Linked DNA regions of Homo sapiens: regions 1, 2 and 3 are each linked to region 4. Evidence: promoter capture Hi-C in human tissues and cell types (Jung and others, 2019). All regions are on one chromosome and are shown on one strand. The core of a region is centred on a gene start or on the middle of the fragment in contact, and the rest is flanking DNA. Distances in the headings are between cores, read along the strand shown. Region 1 overlaps SLC7A14 (solute carrier family 7 member 14). Region 2 overlaps SLC7A14 (solute carrier family 7 member 14). Region 3 overlaps SLC7A14-AS1 (SLC7A14 antisense RNA 1). Region 4 holds the start of SLC7A14 (solute carrier family 7 member 14).

Region 1 (2,760 bases), core at 182-2,681, 63 kb after region 4:
AATGAAGACTACACAGTTTTCAATAGATCTCATCCATTTTGACCCAGTCTCCCAGACCACAGTGATTTTTGTGAATGAATTACCTGTGTCTTATTCTTCACAGGATACATTACATCTGGAAACCAGAGCCTGCCACCTACCCCCATCACAGTGCTCATGAGCAGTATATAATCTAGACTTTTCCACTGCTCACATGGAGAGCCTGAAATTGGTCCAGACTGTGTTATGCTGGAGCCAGCTCACACCAGCTGCCAAGAGTACTAATGGTGCATACCTCTTTCCAGCTTTACATTCAATGATGTCATGCTGTTAACTTGGCATCAGCTATGGAGGGCCTATGTGTTTGTTGTTGTTACCATTGTTCAGAGAATTAGTTGTTAAACCTTTACCAGCACATCACTAGGCCACCTCCACTAAAGACCCTGGTCCTGCCCAGTAATTGAGGCCTTCACCACAGCACCAAGCACAAGAAGAAAAAACCCTACCTCTCCCCAAAACAGGATTCCTCCTCTCCACATAACACTTCTCTATACTGTATGACTGACTTATCTAGCCACTGAGGCCATTTGGAATCCTCCCAGAGCCCCTAGTCAGGCCAGGACCAAAATATCATAACTTATGCCAATGTTAGCATATTTATAGCAGGTTTCTTCAAGCAGGCCTCTCACTCTTATGATTGTTGGTCACTAAACTAAAGGAAGTGCTGCTCCAGTGTCTTTTTTCCACTTTCACATCATCATCCCCATATTGTTTCACCTTTGGCAAAACTTCCCACTGCTTCTCCATACAACAATAATCAAACTCTCCTATATCTTCATCCTTTTAAATACACGGTCCTTTTCTCCTTCTGGTCTTAATTAAAACCTGGCTCACCTGAGGGTGAGTCCAGTCTCCACAACTGCACATTTATCTCCAGCAATAATTGCTGCTTAGTTGCAAGAATGAAGTAAAGAGAAAGTTGAGATTAACTTAGATTTAACTTTTTCCAAGCAGAGGGAGAAAAAAGTAATGGGGTTAAGAGTGTTTTCAAAGGAAGACTAAACTGTGCTGAATCACATAATCTAGGCTGAATAAGAAGGGAAGTGAAACACAAGAGTGACGATGACTCATGAAAAGTGGTGGAATCGGTAGAAATTGGAATTGTCAATCAGGTCAAGATATCATTGCAATAAAAATACTGGGAAAGTTAGACAGAAAGCTAGGAAGTGATGGAAATGATAAAGAGTGGGATGTTTGAAATAAAGATTTCAGAAGTAGTATAGCAATCAATAACATTCAGTTTAGACTTGAAACCTGGTTCAGCCACTGACTAGCTGTGAGACCTTGAGTAAGTTCCATAATTTCTCTGAACATCGGTTTCTCCACTTTAAAAATAATAATACCTACTTCAAAGGATTGTTGTCAAGACTAAAGGAGATGCATATTAATTGCCTGGTACATTGCCGAGCACATAGCACTAAATAAGTGGTTTTTATTATTTTGTGCCAAACCCTAAATTAGGTGCTTTCCAGAGAGTGTGGCCCTTAAAACTCTTTATCTCTTTAAAGTAGGTTTTATTATCTCCAATTTCACATACGTGGAAAATGTGTAAACCGAAGTTTAAATGACAGAACCCACATTCAAATCTGTTGATAGATAGGTTGAGAGATAATGTCAACAACTCTCAACCCTGGCTATGGGTTTAAATCACTTGGGAATTTTTTTTCTGTAATAATGAAAAATGGATGTTGGAGTTCAGTTTTATTGAGTTATAATTACATATCATAAAATGCATCCTTTTTTATATACACTTCTATGAGCTTTAGTAAACACATATAATCGTGTAAGCTTCACCACAATCAAGATGCAGAAGAGCTCCATCACCTCCAAAATAATTTCTCCAGGCTGCCTCTTTGTAGTTAATCCCTCCTCCCACTCCCAGCCCCTGGCAACCACTAATTTGTTTTCAGTCCCTATCGGTTTGCCCTTTCCAGAACATTATGTAAATAGAATCATTCAGTATATAACCTTTTAAGTTTGCTTTCTTTTGCTTAGCAAGATGCATTTGAAATTCATTCATGTTGTTGTGTGTATCAGAAGGTTGTTCCATTTTCTTGCTGAGTAGTATCCCATTGTATGGCTCTACTACCATTTGTTTATCCTTTTACCAGTTGGAGGACAACTGGGTTGTTTCCAGTCTTTGGCCGATGTAAATAAACTCACTGCAAGTATTTACATGTAGGTTTTTATATAAACACAAGTTGTGGTTTCTCAAGTAAGTACTTAGGAGTGAAGTTGTTAGTTTATATGGTAAGTGAATGCTCAACTTTATAATAAATAGCCAAGCTTTTTTCCAAAGTAGCTGTATTATATTTGACTTGCACAGGAATATGTGAAAGTTCCAGTTCTTTGCCAGCACTCAGAATTGTTAGGTGTGGTTTTTCATGGTTGTTTTGTTTTTTGTTTGTTTGTTTGTTTTGCCATTTTAAAAGGTATATAGCAATGTTTCAATGTGGTTTTAATTTGCATTATGCTAATTACTAATGATGTTGGACATCTTTCTATGAGTTTATTTGTCATCCATGTGCTCTCCTTGGTAAAGTGTCTATTTAAATCTTTTGCCCACCCCCCACCTTTTTCTTTTTTTTTTGAGATGGAGTCTTGCTCTGTCTCCCAGGCTGGTGTGCAATGGCACGATCTCGGCTCACCACAACCTCCACCTCCCAGGTTCAAGCGACTCTTCTGCCTCAGCCTCCCGAGTAGCTGGGACTACAGGTGCAT
Region 2 (2,700 bases), core at 114-2,613, 35 kb after region 4:
TTCGCTTTCAAATATACAACCAGACAATCACACAGGTCAAAAACCTGTTAATAATGATCTCAGCATCCCAGAACACAATACCATTTTGCATATAAACATAAAGTACTATGTATAAATTTTATATGTGCTATAAAGATTGATATGTAGATCAATGGAATAAAATTAAGAGTCCACAAATACATCCTTACATTGTTAGGCAACTGATCTCAATGCCCAACAATGTGAGGGTGTATTTCTGGACTCTTAATTTTGTTTTAAGTTTTATTAAACTTATTAATGTAAGAGTGTATCTCTAGACTCTTATTTTTCCTATTGAATTGTCTTGACACTAAGACACCAATTGTCTTGACACCAACACAATTCAGTAGGGAAAAGATCAGTATTTTCAACAAATGGTGCTGAGTCCACTAGATACACACATGATAAAGAATGAAGGTGGACCCTTACCTCAGTTGTTATTCAAAAATTAACTCAGAATGGATTAAAGACCAAAACATAAGAGCTAAAACAATAAAATTCTTGGAAGAAAATATAGTCATAAGTCTTTGTAATTTTGGATTAGGCAATACGTTTTTTAGATATGATATCAAAAGCATAAACAATAAAAGGAAAAATAGATAAATTAGACTACTTCAAATCCAAAAAACTTTTGCACTTCAAATGAAACCTTTAAGAAAGTGAAAAGAATGAAATCTTTAAGAAAGTGAAAAGGAAAAGCACAGAATGGTTTATATTGCAACACATATATCTGAGAAGGATTTAGAATCCAGAATATATAAAGAATCTTATGACTCAACAATAAAAAGAGAAATAACCCATTTTTAATGGGCAAATGATTTGAATAGATATTTCTTCAAAGGTATGTACAAATGGCCGATAAAGATGCTCAAGATCTTTAGTCATTAGGGAAATAAAAGTAAAACCACAATGAGATACAACTTCACACCCTTTAGGATGGTTGTAATTTTAAAAAGATTAACAATAACACATATTGAGGAAGATGTAGAGAAACTGAAATCATCCATTGCTGGTGGGAATGCAAAGTGGTGCTGCTGTCTTGGAACACAGTCCAGCAGTTCCTGAAAATGTTAAACATTGAGATGCCATATGACACAGCACTTCCACTCCCAGTATGTATCCAAGAGACCTGAAAACGAATGTCCACACAAAAATCTGTACACGAATGCTCACAGCAACATTATTCATAATATCCAAAAAGTGGAAACAATCCAAATGGTATCAACTGAATACTATGAATGAGTGAACAAAATATGGTATAGCCATATAATGGGATATTATTCAGCCATAAAACAGAAATGAAGTTCTGATATGTGATACAACATGGATGAACTTTGACAACGTTATGATAAGTGAAAGAAGCCAGATACAAAAGGCCACATATAATATTACTGAATTTATGTGAAATGTCCAACATAGGCAAATCCATAAAGAAAGAAAGTAGATTAGTGGTTACCAGGAGTTGGGGGAGGAGCAATGGAGAGTAACTGCTCATGGGTATGGGATTTTTGAGGGGGTAATTACAATGTTCTAAAATTAAATCAGTGTGATAGTTTCACAATTCTGTGAATATACTGTACTAAAAAAACACTGAAATATATACTTTAAAAGGATGAATTTTATAGTATGTGGATTACACTTCGCTTTTAAAAAATATATGTGCTGAATTTTTCAGAAAGGCAACCAATATACAAATCAAGGAAAGATGGTTGGGCGCGGTGTCTCATGCCTGTAATCCCAGCACTTTGGGAGGCCTAGGCAGGCAGATCACCTGAGGTCAGGAGTTCGAGACCAGCCTGGCCAACATGGTGAAACCCCGTCTCTACTAAAAATATAAAAATTATTCAGGCATGGTGGCAGGAACCTGTAATCCCAGCTACTCAGGAGGCTGAGGCAGGAGAATTGCTTGAACCTGGGAGGCGGAGGTTGCAGTGAGCCGAGATCACACCATTGCACTCCAGCCTGGGCGACAAAAGCGAAACTCTGTCACCAAAAAAAAAAAAAAAAAAAAAAAAATTCAAGGAAAGATGGCATTAGGTTTAGTTTGAAAGATTACAAGAGTCGTTTACCATTTCAAAAAACCACTTCACCACAAACCCTGTGCAGTAGTATTTGAATCACCAACACCCACACTTTACGGTTTATGGCTATTGAGATCTCAGTGACTCTATGCATAGATGCAAGTTTAAGTATTTCATTATATCATTCTTGTGCATTTACAGCTTAAAGAGTATTTTTTACTACAAATTAATTGCCTTCTAGTTCTTCTTCATATTATAGTAAGTGCACTATATTGATTTTTCTTGAATAATGTTTGTGGGTTGGTTATATTATCTATGAACTTCATTTCAGCTTAGAAATGGGCAGAATGCCCCATCACATTTATAATGCAACGTGTGCTGTTAAAAAGGTGGCATTAAGGCTAATAGAATTGAGGACCACTGACTTATTTTCAGGTCAACCCTTCATTACACACACATGTCCAATCACAACCATCATTTAATTATAGCTCAGGGTCTTCCTCTTTTCCCCTCTGCACATAAAATTACAAACAGATAAAACCACAGCAGCCACAGCTTTTGGCATTTCCCTAGACTAAAGCTTTCACCCATCAGACCTCTGCCCCTGGAATTATAAAGATTTACTTGTAAAGAGTTTAAATTGCTTTCCATCCTCACTGTC
Region 3 (2,700 bases), core at 79-2,578, 43 kb before region 4:
AAGAACCACTTAAGGTGACAGCCTACATGGTCACAGAGCATGAAAAACCTTACCCACATTTCCCCCTCTTTCCCTGTAGGAGGATCCCTAAGGGTTAGGTGATACCAGAACTAGGAGAGGTAGGCAGAGAGAAACTGAAAGACCTGAAAGAAAATAATTTCTCTGGATAGTTTCTCTGACCACTGAGGGATTATTTAATAGTAAAAACATACACTACAAATCATCAGAGAGCTTGACTTTCCACCAGTTGGGGATTTACTTCTGGTCATGATTGCACATCTCTGAGAAGTTACTGACTCAGTCCTGGGCTCCTTCTTTTCCCCAACTACACACTCTCCTTGAGTCTCATCCAGTCCTCGGGCTTTGAATATTGCCAGGCTGATAATATCGACCTGAGACTCCTATATCTCACTGCCACGCGGATAGTTCCATTCGGATGTCCCACAAGGCATCTCCAACTTAAATATCCAGGAGAGACCTCTTGCCTTCCTGCCTCTCACTTCTAAATGTGGAGCTTGCCTGGAAACCTGGGAGTCATGATTGGCAACTTGCTTTTCTCTCATTCTTCACAGTCCTTTCAGCCAGCAGCTCCAGCCCCCATACCCGTGATTAGTCTCCACTTCCACTGCCACCACTCAGATTCCAGCCAAGGTCTCTTCTCGTGCAGCAACACCAACGACCTTCTAATTATTCCTTCAACTTCCATTCTTGCCCTCCTCCAATCTGTCGTCCACGCAGTGGCCAAAAGTTCTTTTTAAAACACGATTTGAATTACACCATTCTCCTGCTTAAGACTTTTACCTGGCTTTGCATTGTACCTTGAATGAAATTCAGGCTCCCGCCGTGGTGTTCTGGGCCGTGCATGGTAAGACCCATGCCCTCCTCTCCACCTCGCCCAGGCCACGTTGCCTGCTGCCCCCTGCACCACAGTCCCAGTGGTCTTAGTCATCTCAAGCATACACCATGCCTCAGAGCCTTTGCTCCTGCTGGCCCCTATTTCCCCTGCTCTTTGTGTGGCTGACTCTTTCCTCTCCATCAAGTTTCAGTGTCAACGTGACTTACTCTTACAGAGAAGCCTCCTCTCATTCGCTATGTAAAGAATTTCCCAACTTCATTGCTATCTGTGATAGTGCCCTGAATCTTTCTTAATAATTACTAAAAGTTGTCATTATTTTATTTATTGCTTATTTGATTACTATGCTATACCTTGTCTAGATTGTAAACTGTAAGGGAGCAGAGGTCTCGGTTATTTTTTCCCTATGTATGCCACATCCAGCACATAATAAATGCCCAATAAATATTTGCTGATTAAGTTAATTAATTAAAGAAGGCCATTAGTCATTGACACTTTTAGCTAGTTGCTAGAAAATCAACCTGATTAACCTAATCTGATTGAGGCATGCCACTGTGCTCCTTCTACCTCTGTGCAAGCAGAGTTTCAGCTACAGGAATGGAGAAAAAGAATTTGCAGGCTCATTTCCGTAAAGGTATAGAAAAGTCTATTTCTTCTTCAGGAGGGCATCTGAACAGTTTCCTCTTTACAGCACCTCCCCTAGAAAGTTTTTATTTCACAGAGTATAGACAATGTTAGTTATAATTTTTTATAGGCAATGCTCTCCATTTTATAGTTAATTACCATGTAGCTCAATAACATGTGTATTATTAAATATATGTCAGATTAATTTTCTTGTAATTTTTTTTTTTTTTGAGATGTAATTTCGCTCTGTCACCCAGGCTGGAGTGCGGTGGCACGATCTCGGCTAACTGCAGTCTCTGCCTCCCAGGTTCAAGTAATTCTCCTGCCTCAGCCTCTCAAGTAGCTGGGACTACAGGTGCACGCCACTACACCTGGCTAATTTTTACATTTTTAGTAGAGATGGGGTTTCACCATGTTGGCCAGGTTGGTCTCGAACTCCTGACATCAGGTGATCCACCCACCTCAGCCTCCCAAAGTGCTGGGATTATAGGCATGAGCCACTGCGCCCAGCTTCTTGTAAGTTATGATTTTTAACTATAGCTCAGATAGTACAGTTTTTCTTTTTAAAAGTGAGAGGAAACAATCCAGTGACTACATGGACTATTACACAAGCACATAAAGTTATTAAGTAAACATGGTAACAAATAGCAATGTTTATGATTCAGTTTAAGAGACAAAAGCAGAATACATAATTGTTCTGATTTGTAATTAAAATGATCAAAGTATGTATAAAAGCAAGCAATAACTAATAGGGAACAAGAAAAAACACCTTGGTTTTCTAGTGTGGTAGATTTATGTCTGTTTCTTTTTTAGTTATTTCCATTTTCTTGGTACAATAGTAATTGCACAATAAATTTGGGGCTGAACTAGGCTGTAAATATGATTGCTGGTGTGCCTGCAGTTAGTATAGTGACTGGAAACATGTGGGGTCGGTCAGAGAAAGTCTCGCTGCAATATTCCTGCTCATTTGGACTGTCTAAAAGTTGTGCCCTCTTGTTTAATGCTTCCAGCTTGATCATCTGGTTAAATTTGTCACTCAAATACTTCTATCAAGAAGTAGCAGCGAGAATAAACCTCTTTATTTGTATTTGTACTTCCTGCTTGTTCTCCATGTGAGTGCATGTTAGGGTAGAGGAAGCAGGGAGGACCATACACTTAAAATAAATGCAACCCCAAAATTACAAAGAACAATATGTGTTTGTATGTCCCATATGGAACAATTC
Region 4 (2,700 bases), core at 37-2,536:
GCAATGATCAAGCAACTTTCTGGGAAGAGCCCAGGGCAGACCCACAAAGTAGAGCTAGATTTGAACTGCTCCACCCTAGAGGAGTATCAGTCAGCCAGTATTCTCCCCAAACACAAGCCCAGTGAATTCATTTCCAAGGATAGGAGAGTTACATTTTGTTGCCTCCCATGTGTTTTGAGGGCTTGGGCCAAAGTGCAAGAATTTATGTAGATAACTTTCATCCAAATCAGTCTACTCAATGCTTGTTAAATAATTCATTCGGTGATGTGGCCAAGCATGCCTGGGTTGGTCCCATCTAGTCCCAATCCTTTTGGGACATAACCTGGCTCTAGGACACTCATCTTAAAGGAGCTAATACAAAACAGAAACCTTATCTCACTCTTGTCTCCGTTTAGACTGGTACTTGTCTAGCCTGACCTCACAGATGCCTCCTTCCATGTTTAAAAGATGCTTTCACTGTATTAGCACACATCACATCCTTCTTGCCTTGTGAAATTTATTTTAACAAAGGTGGGGGAAAAAGAACTCTCCTTTATTGAGCTCCAAATACCTGTCCAACTCTAGGCTAGGCAATTCTAAGAACATGATGATTTCTCAATCTCATGACAATACTGCAAGGTGGTTATTTCACAGACGAGAGAAGAAAAGCTAGAAAGTTAAATGCTCCAAGGTCATACAGATTGGAATCCTAATGGCTCTTCAAATCTCAAGTCCATGATCTTTGCACCCATAAGATGTTGTGAACCCAACGATAAACTTAAGCTTTGAAGACAGAGGTGGGTCTTGTCTTCTTTAGGAGGAGAGGAGAAATCAACCTCTCTCATTTTTTCTTTCCTGTAGGGCTCAGGGATGTGGAAGTTTAAGAGCAACGAAGGCTCCGCAGAGGATGAGGGAAGCTTCCAGAGGGCAGGAAGGAGGTCTGGACAGCCCAGTCTAGCAGGGGCAGAGCTGCGGCAGATGCCTTCCCAACGCACAGACATTGCAGAGTCCTGCTGGTCCCTGCTTTCCCAGGGCAAAGAACTGCCCCCATCCACGGCCCCCTCAACCTCCCTGCAGCCTGACATAAGACACTGGAGGTCACAACTGGAGGCTCAGAAGGCCAGCGAGGAGTTGTGAGCGGCAGACAGAGGGGAAGGCAGGGGGGCCAGGTGGGAGGTGGTCTGGTGCCAGGCTTGGGCCCAGTATGTAAGGGGTTGGGCAGGCCATGTGACTCCAAGGAGGCGGAGACAGGCGAGCTGGAGGGAGGACGAGCAGGCACGGGGAGGGGTTCGGGGGGTGGGGGCCCAATCTGAATAATTGAGGAGCTGTTCAGCAGCAGCGGCTGCCTCCTGCCTTCCTTTGCCGCCACCACCACTTCCCATCCCAGCTAGAGAGACAGCTCCGCGCAGTAAGTGCGGACTGCCAGCCACCAGCCTTGGCAGCCAGCTCGTCGCCTCCAGCCCCGACCCCGGTAAGTGAACGGCCCCCTTCGCTGCCGTTTGTCCCCCTCCGCGCCCCCCGCGCCCCAGCGGGACCCCTGCAACTGGGATGGCCGCCTCTCCCGGAATGACCCAGGGAGCCGGAGTCACCGGGAGCGGGGGACCAGGAATATGGCGCGGAGGCCCAGGGCGCCCTCCGAGAAGGGGTTCCCTGGAAGAACCGAGGAGGTGGGTCGGGCTCTTTCCTGCTCTGGCCCGGAATGAGGCCCCGACTGCCCGCGGTCTGGGGGCACCGGGCTCTGACTCGCGGGAGCTGCCGGGCGGGGCGGGGGCCAGCGCGGCTCCGGCGCCGCTAGAGCGGGAGGCAGAAGGGGAGCCGCGAGCGGAATGCGGGCAGCCTAGGTCTCGGCAGACGCCGGGCCCGTCCTGTCCCCCGCCTTGGCGCGCACCCCGCACGGGCAGCTCCGTTCTCCGCCTCGGACCGAGACCATGAAACGGAGACGCTTTTCCGGCCGCAGACTCCGGGGAGGTCGGGAGCAACGTCTGCCCTTTTACCTGGGAGCAAACTCCTCAAAGGGACTCCCGCCGAGCCCAGCACCCCGACCAGGATGGTGGCGCCCCGAGGGGCGTCTGTCCCCGGAGAGTGGTGACTCTCCCGGGAGCGGCGAAGAGGACGTGACGGGAGCGGTGTCCAGGGAAGCTCCCTGCCCAGAGCCGGCAGCCCCAGCAAGGGGAGCTCTCCTGCACTGCTTCAACCCTCAGTCTCCTCTCTTCTCCCATTCCAAAGCACATCAGCTCCCCTCTAATCCAAGAGGGCCAGGTTAGGGCTGCGTGGCCACGCGGGATGCAGCCCCCACCCTCCTTCTCTCTCCTGTGTCACCCTGCCCCCTCCCCAAATGAGTATTTTATATTGCGATTGAAGAGTGAGCAAAGCAAAGGCGAGAAGAGATGCAGGAAGGCTAGAGCAGCGGGGCTCGCTCCTGTTCTGGCACTCCTCATCCCCCCACCTGTGTGAAGCTCGTTTCCTTGAGATTTTGAGCGGAGACACTCAAAGGAACTGGCTCTGGCGAAGGGATCCCCGCCTGAGTGTCGGTGAACGTCACTGGCCCGAATTGCCCAAGGGCCGCAGGATGTCACCCTGCCTCCCCCTAGGTATAGGGTCTAGGAGAGCGCTGGGGGCAAGGTAGCTCTCCTCCTCCGACTGAGTGCAGGGAATGGCGCTGTCCGCGGTGCTGAAAGTTCTCAGAGGCTGGGTGCTAATACCGCCAGGGCCCACATTCCC

What was found. Contacts are between HindIII fragments. The study calls those that stand out against the background at their distance.
Region 1: a contact is called between a fragment that was not itself captured here and the fragment with the promoter of SLC7A14 in region 4, in 3 of the 25 tissues and cell types used here (IMR-90 fibroblasts, hippocampus and mesenchymal stem cells).
Region 2: a contact is called between a fragment that was not itself captured here and the fragment with the promoter of SLC7A14 in region 4, in 6 of the 25 tissues and cell types used here (IMR-90 fibroblasts, hippocampus, mesenchymal stem cells and 3 more).
Region 3: a contact is called between a fragment that was not itself captured here and the fragment with the promoter of SLC7A14 in region 4, in 1 of the 25 tissues and cell types used here (mesenchymal stem cells).

The regions. Positions count from the first base shown.
Region 1 is chr3:170,521,790-170,524,549 of GRCh38, reverse strand. All of the region lies in intron 2 of SLC7A14 (solute carrier family 7 member 14), which reads left to right. All of the region lies in intron 2 of SLC7A14-AS1 (SLC7A14 antisense RNA 1), which reads right to left. Among named protein-coding and RNA genes, the nearest start is that of SLC7A14-AS1, 56 kb to the right of the region's middle. The HindIII fragment of the contact is 5,563 bases long and covers 1-2,760 here.
Region 2 is chr3:170,549,847-170,552,546 of GRCh38, reverse strand. All of the region lies in intron 1 of SLC7A14 (solute carrier family 7 member 14), which reads left to right. All of the region lies in intron 2 of SLC7A14-AS1 (SLC7A14 antisense RNA 1), which reads right to left. Among named protein-coding and RNA genes, the nearest start is that of SLC7A14, 35 kb to the left of the region's middle. The HindIII fragment of the contact is 4,004 bases long and covers 1-2,700 here.
Region 3 is chr3:170,627,643-170,630,342 of GRCh38, reverse strand. The region is part of intron 2 of SLC7A14-AS1 (SLC7A14 antisense RNA 1); the gene reads right to left. Among named protein-coding and RNA genes, the nearest start is that of SLC7A14, 43 kb to the right of the region's middle. The HindIII fragment of the contact is 6,253 bases long and covers 1-2,700 here.
Region 4 is chr3:170,584,661-170,587,360 of GRCh38, reverse strand. SLC7A14 (solute carrier family 7 member 14) reads left to right here and starts at 1,286. Exons shown (of 8, transcript NM_020949.3): 1 at 1,286-1,450. The region is part of intron 2 of SLC7A14-AS1 (SLC7A14 antisense RNA 1); the gene reads right to left. RefSeq lists a silencer at 2,507-2,700. The HindIII fragment of the contact is 10,108 bases long and covers 366-2,700 here.